Regions from separate parts of the Homo sapiens genome. Here region 2 is linked to region 1. The links are contacts of gene promoters, found by promoter capture Hi-C in blood cells and fetal thymus (Javierre and others, 2016). All regions are on one chromosome and are shown on one strand. The core of a region is centred on a gene start or on the middle of the fragment in contact, and the rest is flanking DNA. Distances in the headings are between cores, read along the strand shown. Region 1 holds the start of CEP68 (centrosomal protein 68). Region 2 overlaps PELI1 (pellino E3 ubiquitin protein ligase 1).

Evidence for each region. Contacts are between HindIII fragments. The CHiCAGO score rates a contact against its expected background, and 5 or more counts as called.
Region 2: a contact is called between a fragment that was not itself captured here and the fragment with the promoter of CEP68 in region 1, in 1 of 17 cell types (naive CD4 T cells). The highest score is 5.5, in naive CD4 T cells.

The regions. Positions count from the first base shown.
Region 1 is chr2:65,054,036-65,058,182 of GRCh38, reverse strand. It overlaps CEP68 (centrosomal protein 68), which reads right to left and starts at 1,767. Exons shown (of 7, transcript NM_015147.3): 1 at 1,655-1,767. RefSeq lists silencers at 535-614, 625-674, 1,305-1,644, 1,725-1,834 and an enhancer at 1,935-2,174. The HindIII fragment of the contact is 3,790 bases long and covers 678-4,147 here.
Region 2 is chr2:64,140,995-64,143,883 of GRCh38, reverse strand. The region is part of intron 1 of PELI1 (pellino E3 ubiquitin protein ligase 1); the gene reads left to right. Among named protein-coding and RNA genes, the nearest start is that of PELI1, 2.0 kb to the left of the region's middle. RefSeq lists a silencer at 1-16. The HindIII fragment of the contact is 1,420 bases long and covers 930-2,349 here.

The DNA.
Region 1 (4,147 bases), core at 518-3,017:
TGAAGGGTCAAGTACTATACAGATATTTCATATTGGTGAGTGTATTCAAGTATCCATTTATTTTTCTCCTAACGACTGCTAACAGCTAACAGCTACTGATCATTTTCTTTGTGCCAGGAACTATATTAGGCACTATACATCAATATCTTATTTAATCCTAATAACTCACCACACAGGTACTACTATTATTCCCATTTTTAAGGATGAGGAAACCAAGGCACGGAGAAGTTAAATAACTTAATGACACGCCTGTAATCCCAGCACTCTGGGAGGCAGAGGCAGGAGGATTGCTTGAGCCCAGGAGTTCAAGACCAGCCTGGACAACATGGCAAGACCCCCATCACCATTAAAAAAAAAATTAATCAGAGTTAGTAACATGGCAGAGCTAAAGCCTGTTTGACTTAGAGAGCCTGAGCTTAGCTGCCTTCCTAACCTGTAAGAATAACTCGCTCAAGAAGTTAAATAAATGTTTCTGTTGTGTCACCTTTAGACTACCACGCTGATTTTGTTTCCTTTTGGCTTCCTTCCATCATTGAGTGCCTTTTATGTTCCAAGCATTGTGCTAGGGGCTGGGGAAACCACAATACAGTGTGATGAGTAAAAACAGAGGCTGCAGAAGGTAGCCCAAAAAAGGGAGGAGTTATCAGTCGCAGGGTGGGGAAGTGCTTTAAAAAGCTTTGCGCAAAAGAGGTTAAACTGAATTCCTTGGGTTTTTTGTTGTTGTTGTTTTCTAAGTGGGCCAGAATTGACTCAACAGAGGGTGGGAAAGGGGAATGGAGGGAACAAAGTAAAAAGTGGTGACTTCTAGATCTTTCAACTAAACCCAAGGCAAACTGACCCAACAACCTTTGTTACACACTTTAACACAACACTCTTCATACCCTAGATCTGAGAACTGTTAGATTATTTACAAACGCTACCTCCCTTCGTGGTCCTGATGAATTCCCAGTGAGGTCCAATCTGCCCTGGCAGGCTTCCGCTCATTTTTGTTACAAACAATACACTAAACCCAACCTACTAATCATCAAGGGCCTGGAACAGGTTTTGGACATTCGTCCCCAGGCTGCTGAGAACTGTTCTAGTGATGACAGTTAGAAAGGGTAGCCCTCCGAGGCAAAAAAAATGAGACATCTTGATTTTTTCTCTCCGCATCTGGGCGCGGCGATAAGAAGACATCACTGGTCTCCATCTTTCCAGGGGGAAAGGCCCGAGCTGCATTAGCCCCGACTGGGGAGCTGGGTAAACAGCCCACGCCCGGGAGAGGCCTGAGGGAAAGTGACCTCCCCCGGGGCCCAGGCCGACCAGCGGCGCAGCTGCTCGGCCGCCAGATGCGCGGACTCGCGCACTCCCTCGCCGCGCCCGGGCATTCCCAAGCCCAGCCGCCCGCCTCGGCCCCGACCCCTCGGCCGCCACAGCACACGCCGTTCCGCTCGCAAGATGGAGGCGAAGGCACGAGGCGCCCCCGCCCCCCAGGGAGCCTTTGTGCCCTTGCCGGCGGGGACGCGAGGCCAGACGGCCCGCACCGCAAGGGCCCCGCAGGCACCGAAGAGACGCGGGGGAGGGGGCCGGGCGCGCGCGCGGATCTAGCCCGGGCCACCGCCCCCAGCGCCGCGGCACCCCCGACACCAGCACCCGCACGCGGGACACTGCCTACCTACCGCACCGCGAACGCTTCGCACGTCCGGAGCGGTCTCAGCAGCCCCATGCGCTGGCCCCGAGCTGGCGGACCCTGACTGCAACTGCGGCCCTCCAACCGCAGCCCAAAACGCGCAGGGCAGGACCGAGCGCCAACCACGCCCTTCGGCCGCGCTGACCACGCCCTTCTTCCCGCCCCTTCTCCCTCCGCGGGAGGGCTTTCGGCAATTTCGCGCAGCGAATCGCAGCTCTAAGTCCGCGGCTCCACCAATACGTGGACGCTCCTGCAAGATGAGCCCGCCCCCTACTTCGTCCTGGCCTATGGGAAGCCGGGACTTCTTCAGCGGCTGTCCTCCCTCGCTTTTGGAGCTCCGACCTCAGCTTCGCCTGCGAGCTGGGTTGTGTAAAGGCTGGTCATTTTGGGGCGCTTAGGGGTGGGTGCCGGGGGGCGCGCTTTCCCTCGTGAAGGTCGCTCCAGGAGTCATGCGTACATTCGTTCATTTTGCTCTGGACGCACTGATGTTCCCGGCTCGCCGCCGTGCCGCAGTCACGAGGCTCTCCGAACGCCTTTCACTGTGTTTCTGTTTACATTCGCGTCTGCAAGACCCGGCGGCGCGACCGAGGCCCGAACAGGTGCTGCGAGGCGGGGCGGGGAGCCAGTGCTGAGGGGAGCTCCCCAGGCCGGGTGGTTGAAGACAGCTTCTGGGGGGAGGTGGAGCTCTGGCTCGTGGAGAATGGGAAGGGTGTGGAAAATGAACTGGTAGCTACTTAGCCACTCTGAGCAGCCTGCTCTGATGGGAAATCGGTGATGGAGTCGGAGGGAAGTGGGAGGCAGCTTGTGGGAGGCCAGGGTGCTCACTCTCTCCCCTGCCAGCATGGGACCTAGTAACTTTCATACATCTCTATCTATCTATCTATTTTGCAAAGATGGGGTCTTGCTGTGTTGCCCAGGCTGGGCTTGAACTCCTGGACTCAGACGATCCTCCCGCCTCGGCCTCCCAAAGTGCTGGAATTACAGGTGTGAGCCACTGCATCCCATCCCCTAGGAGCTTAATGACACTGCCCTTTAGCTTTTACTGCTTAGCAGAATCCGGAGGCATAGAGGAACTACCACCAGGGTGGCGTGGGGAAGAGGCCCTCCCTTCTGATGATTTTCTCTCAGCAGCACTTTCAGCAATCTGGCTTCAACTGAATATCTCCCCAGTTCATAAAACAGGCGTCTGTAAATGTCAACCCCAGCTGGGTGCAGGGTACAAATTTTTTCCTACAGAGCTCTTGAGTCCCAGGTAGTTTAGGAGACAAGGACTTGTTTGGTTTTCCCAGACCTGTCAGGACAGCTCAGAGGTTTTGTCTAACCCAGGGGCCACAAACTTTGGACAACAGCAGCAGCTAGCCCACAGATGGTTTTATTTGGGCATCGCATAGCTTTTCTTTGTTTGTTTGCTTTTGTTTTTTAATAAGAATTTGAATCCCACCACCACCACTGGTCCATTAAGTAACAGCCAGCCTTCACACATTTGCTGCCTACCTGAAGGCATTTGTGTTTGTGACCCTTGATCTTTTCTATACACAGAAGACCTCCAGTGGAGTCACCTAATCCCACAGCCAAGTCACCCCTGCTGGACAGAGAACTGTACAAAGTCCAAACAGGCGTACATATCCTGTATGGTTTCCTCATCTATAAAGAGAGGGGATAGGATGAAGGAGTCCCAAGGTTCCTTTTGGTTCTGATGTTCTGTAATTTTGTGTTGTGAGCAGCTTTTGTTTTTGCCTGACGGGAAAACTTTCCTTTGGGAATTGTCTGCAGTCCGCTGGGTCAGATGGTTCTTTAGCACCGCACTTCTCCGGTCTCCCAAGGCAGGATGGGTGTGGAGAAGGGGAGGTGTGGAACCCAGGCCTGACCAGCTGTAGTCTCCCTCCTCTTGTTTTCAGATTTCCCCAGGGATGCGCACATGACCAAACCTGAGATGATCTGAGCCCTTGTCGGGGATTTTAGAGAATGAGGCTGGGAGAAAGAGGCTCTTTCTTTTGGTGTTTCTGAGCGCGGGAAAAGTAGGCCTAGAGCTGTCTGTAGTTATACTCCTTGCAGCAGCAATGCTGGAGAACCAGGCCTGGAAATGTTAGGAACCAGCTAAGCCATCCTGCTTTGGTACTCTGATTAGGGTGCGTACCAGCTCCTTTGGTGGTGACATGAATTATTTTTCAACTCTTCTCACTTAAGATTCAAGTTTTGGGAAGGACCATTTACTTGGCCTAGTCTAGGTTATGTGCCTGTGTTCTGATTGCCAATAGGCAAAGAGAGTTCTGGTTTCTACTGTGGCTTCTAGTCTGGGAGGCCTAGCCTCATACCAAGACTCAGTGTGTGGGGGCCTCCCCTCAAATAAGAAGAATGAGACGCTGGGTTGCCAAAAGTTGCTTCACTATAGTCCGTCTCTTAGGCTGCCCAACATTCACAGAAGTGCTTTCAAAGGTAAATGAAAATGCTGCCATCCAACAAAATGCGAGCATCTCT
Region 2 (2,889 bases), core at 390-2,889, 910 kb after region 1:
CTTTGTCAGGAACCGGCCCTACGCGGCCTCCCCCTCCGCCCGGGAGCGGGGCGCGCGGCGGCCAACTCCGAGCCCCGCGCCTGGCTGGCCGCGCGCTCCGGCTGCGAGAGGGGAGCTCTGCGGGTGGCGGGGAGGAGAGGGAAATGGGAGAAACAAAAGGGGCGGTGGGTTTCCCTTTTGTTTGTGCGGATCTGATAACTTCTTTTCCTCCCTTACATAACGCAGACTTCAAGTTAGTCATTCTTTTTATTGTTATGATTGTTGTCATCATCTCTGCGCGTCTTTCACATTTCCTTTCATCTTTGGATCTCAGAGCATTTTAAACACGCTAATTAATTTCACCCCCGGGTCCCCTAGGAAACAAGTTAATACGCCCGTTTCCCTAAGTGGGTAAACTGAGGTCGTGAAAAGCTCTCAAATTGATGGATACGCTTGATCTTCTACCGCGCCTCGTGTCTGAGTATATGAAAGCGTTTATGAGGAAGAACCCGTTCTCCAAAGCCCCGTGGAAAAGTTAAAGATGCTCATTTTACTTACAGGTTAACTGAAGTCCAAAAGATGTCTAGGTAATTGTTACGTAGTTCAAACCATAATTCTTCTTACATAGTGTTTGAATCTTAAAACCTCTAAAGACTTAGTGAAAAATGCTCCGAGTAGGGAAATTAATGTAAATCATAAACTCACGTCACCATCTACTTTTATTTTTGTACGTGCAGGTCTGTTAGAGGCAAGAGAGCAAGAAGGGGACAGAGGGCAGAGGTTTTTTAAAAATGTACATTTAACAGATTTTAATCACTACACACAAGGAAATGTGCCTTGGTTTTAACAGCACCAACAATATTCCTGTCGTTTAGTCATCAAACAGTATATCAACAAATGTTATTGAGAACTTTATTCATAAGGTGCTGGTTGTGCTAAAAACTGAAGCTTTATATATAAGAAAAGGTCATCTGTTTCGGTTCACAGGCTCTTTACTTTTTCTTACTCTGCAAAATGTTACTTTGTTTTCATTGCACATGATCTTTTGTTTCAGAAATGGCATTGTCCTTTACTGTGTCGAATATGTATTACTCTTACACTTAAGGATAAATGAATTTATTATTAAGTTTTCATAATAGGGTGAATTTAAAATATTTTAATTGTGGTAAAGGTTCACTTTATTCAGTTCTGTTTCAGTTTACGATGCGTTTTCTTTATAGCCAACAAAATATTTTCTGAGTGATAAGATTTACATGTCTCAAAACATTGTTCTTAGTGTACAAATACAGCATATGAATTCCTTGTTTTTTTTATTTATACCAACAACCTCTTCTGGGGAAAAGTCTTTAACTCTGAGGACCTTATTTATTTTGTGAGTTTTTATTTCTTCGGTACCATACTGGAAAGCACCAAAAATTTAAACCAAGCATCACTTCTACTAGCTCTTTCCTCAGGTAAATAATAATCAGAACTGTAGTAATAGTGAATAGTTTCACTTACTCTAAATTCTCTTAAATTTAATTTTGTACTATATAGTTGTCCTTACATTTTAGATTTTGGTGGTTGCATCAGAAAATGAAAGTGAGATGTTCGTTATTTTATTTTTTTTCCCAAAGCCTTCTAACCTGTTCCCTTTCTATAGTATGTTAAAAGAGATCTTGAGTTTAAAATAAATAATTGGAAAGTAGAACAGTTATATGTATGGAAAGTTGCATGTAGTGAAGTGGTTATAGTGTCTCATGTAGTGAATGTACAGGTTTTAAAGAGGAAACTATCACCTAGCTTTTTATTAGCATGGTAGAAGTGCTGTAATGTAATAGTAGTAGTATTTATTTGCTTCTAAAAAGTAAGCTGGAAATTTGCCTCAGTGGAATTTGTAGGGGGAGGGAATCCATTCTTTCCTTAAGATTGGCATTTAAATGTTCTTACAGTTGGTTATGTTGAACTTTTTCTGTGGTATTTTCAAGCCAGATTTACCAGGAACATTTGTACTTCAAGGAAGCTACTAACACTGTCTTGGCTCAGTCACTGGAATCCACAGGCAGAAGTTAGTGTTGACTGGCAAAGTCTGGCTTTGCAGGTTTCATAATTTCTTTGAGACCCCTTAAAGGAAATGACTGAAAAGTACGGGGTAGGAAGTTAGTCTAGTACTGCCAAATGCCACTGAGGCAAGTTTCAAAGGGGAAGCCAAAGGATGTTTCCATTTGATTTAAGTTCAGCCTCTTCTGGGTTGTCAGAATGTCACTTTTGTATTTTAAGAGTTCTATCATTTCAGAATATGATGTATTATGGTTTTCTAGTAGGTCAGGTGGTAAGGACTGTAGATAGTCATTATGCTTCGTGGACAACTAATGTTTTTAGGCAGAAGCTTCTATAGCTGATAAAGATTTTAAGCCAAAGACTTAGAATTGAAAACTAATATATACATACACATTTTACCATAATACATCAATGTAGACCTATCCTAGTATTTATTAGGTTAGAAAGGCTTTTTGGATTATTTTATTATACAGATATATTTAACTGTAAATATTAAAATTTCATAATGACTAATATATGATGGCACTGAGGTGGCTTTAGGAGCTCCTTTGGGGTGGGGGCGGGAAACATGTTATTCCAAAAGTTACATTTATGTCTTTGAGGACAGTAAAGCAGATTTAAAAGCCAGTGAGAAAAGGAAGAAAATCAGCAAAGTGAAGAAAACCTGATGAAGATGTTTTTAAATAATACAATGTAAAGATTGTTGGCAGCATTTATATATAAGGGACAAAATTCTAGTTGAAGTCTATAAACAGTGAATTCCACTTAGCACTTTCTGTTTATAGATTTCTAGCCATCTTTTCCAGATTCCCTCTGAATATATTACACAGGCAAAGTAAATAGAAGTCATTCTTTCAAGGGATTTGGGTT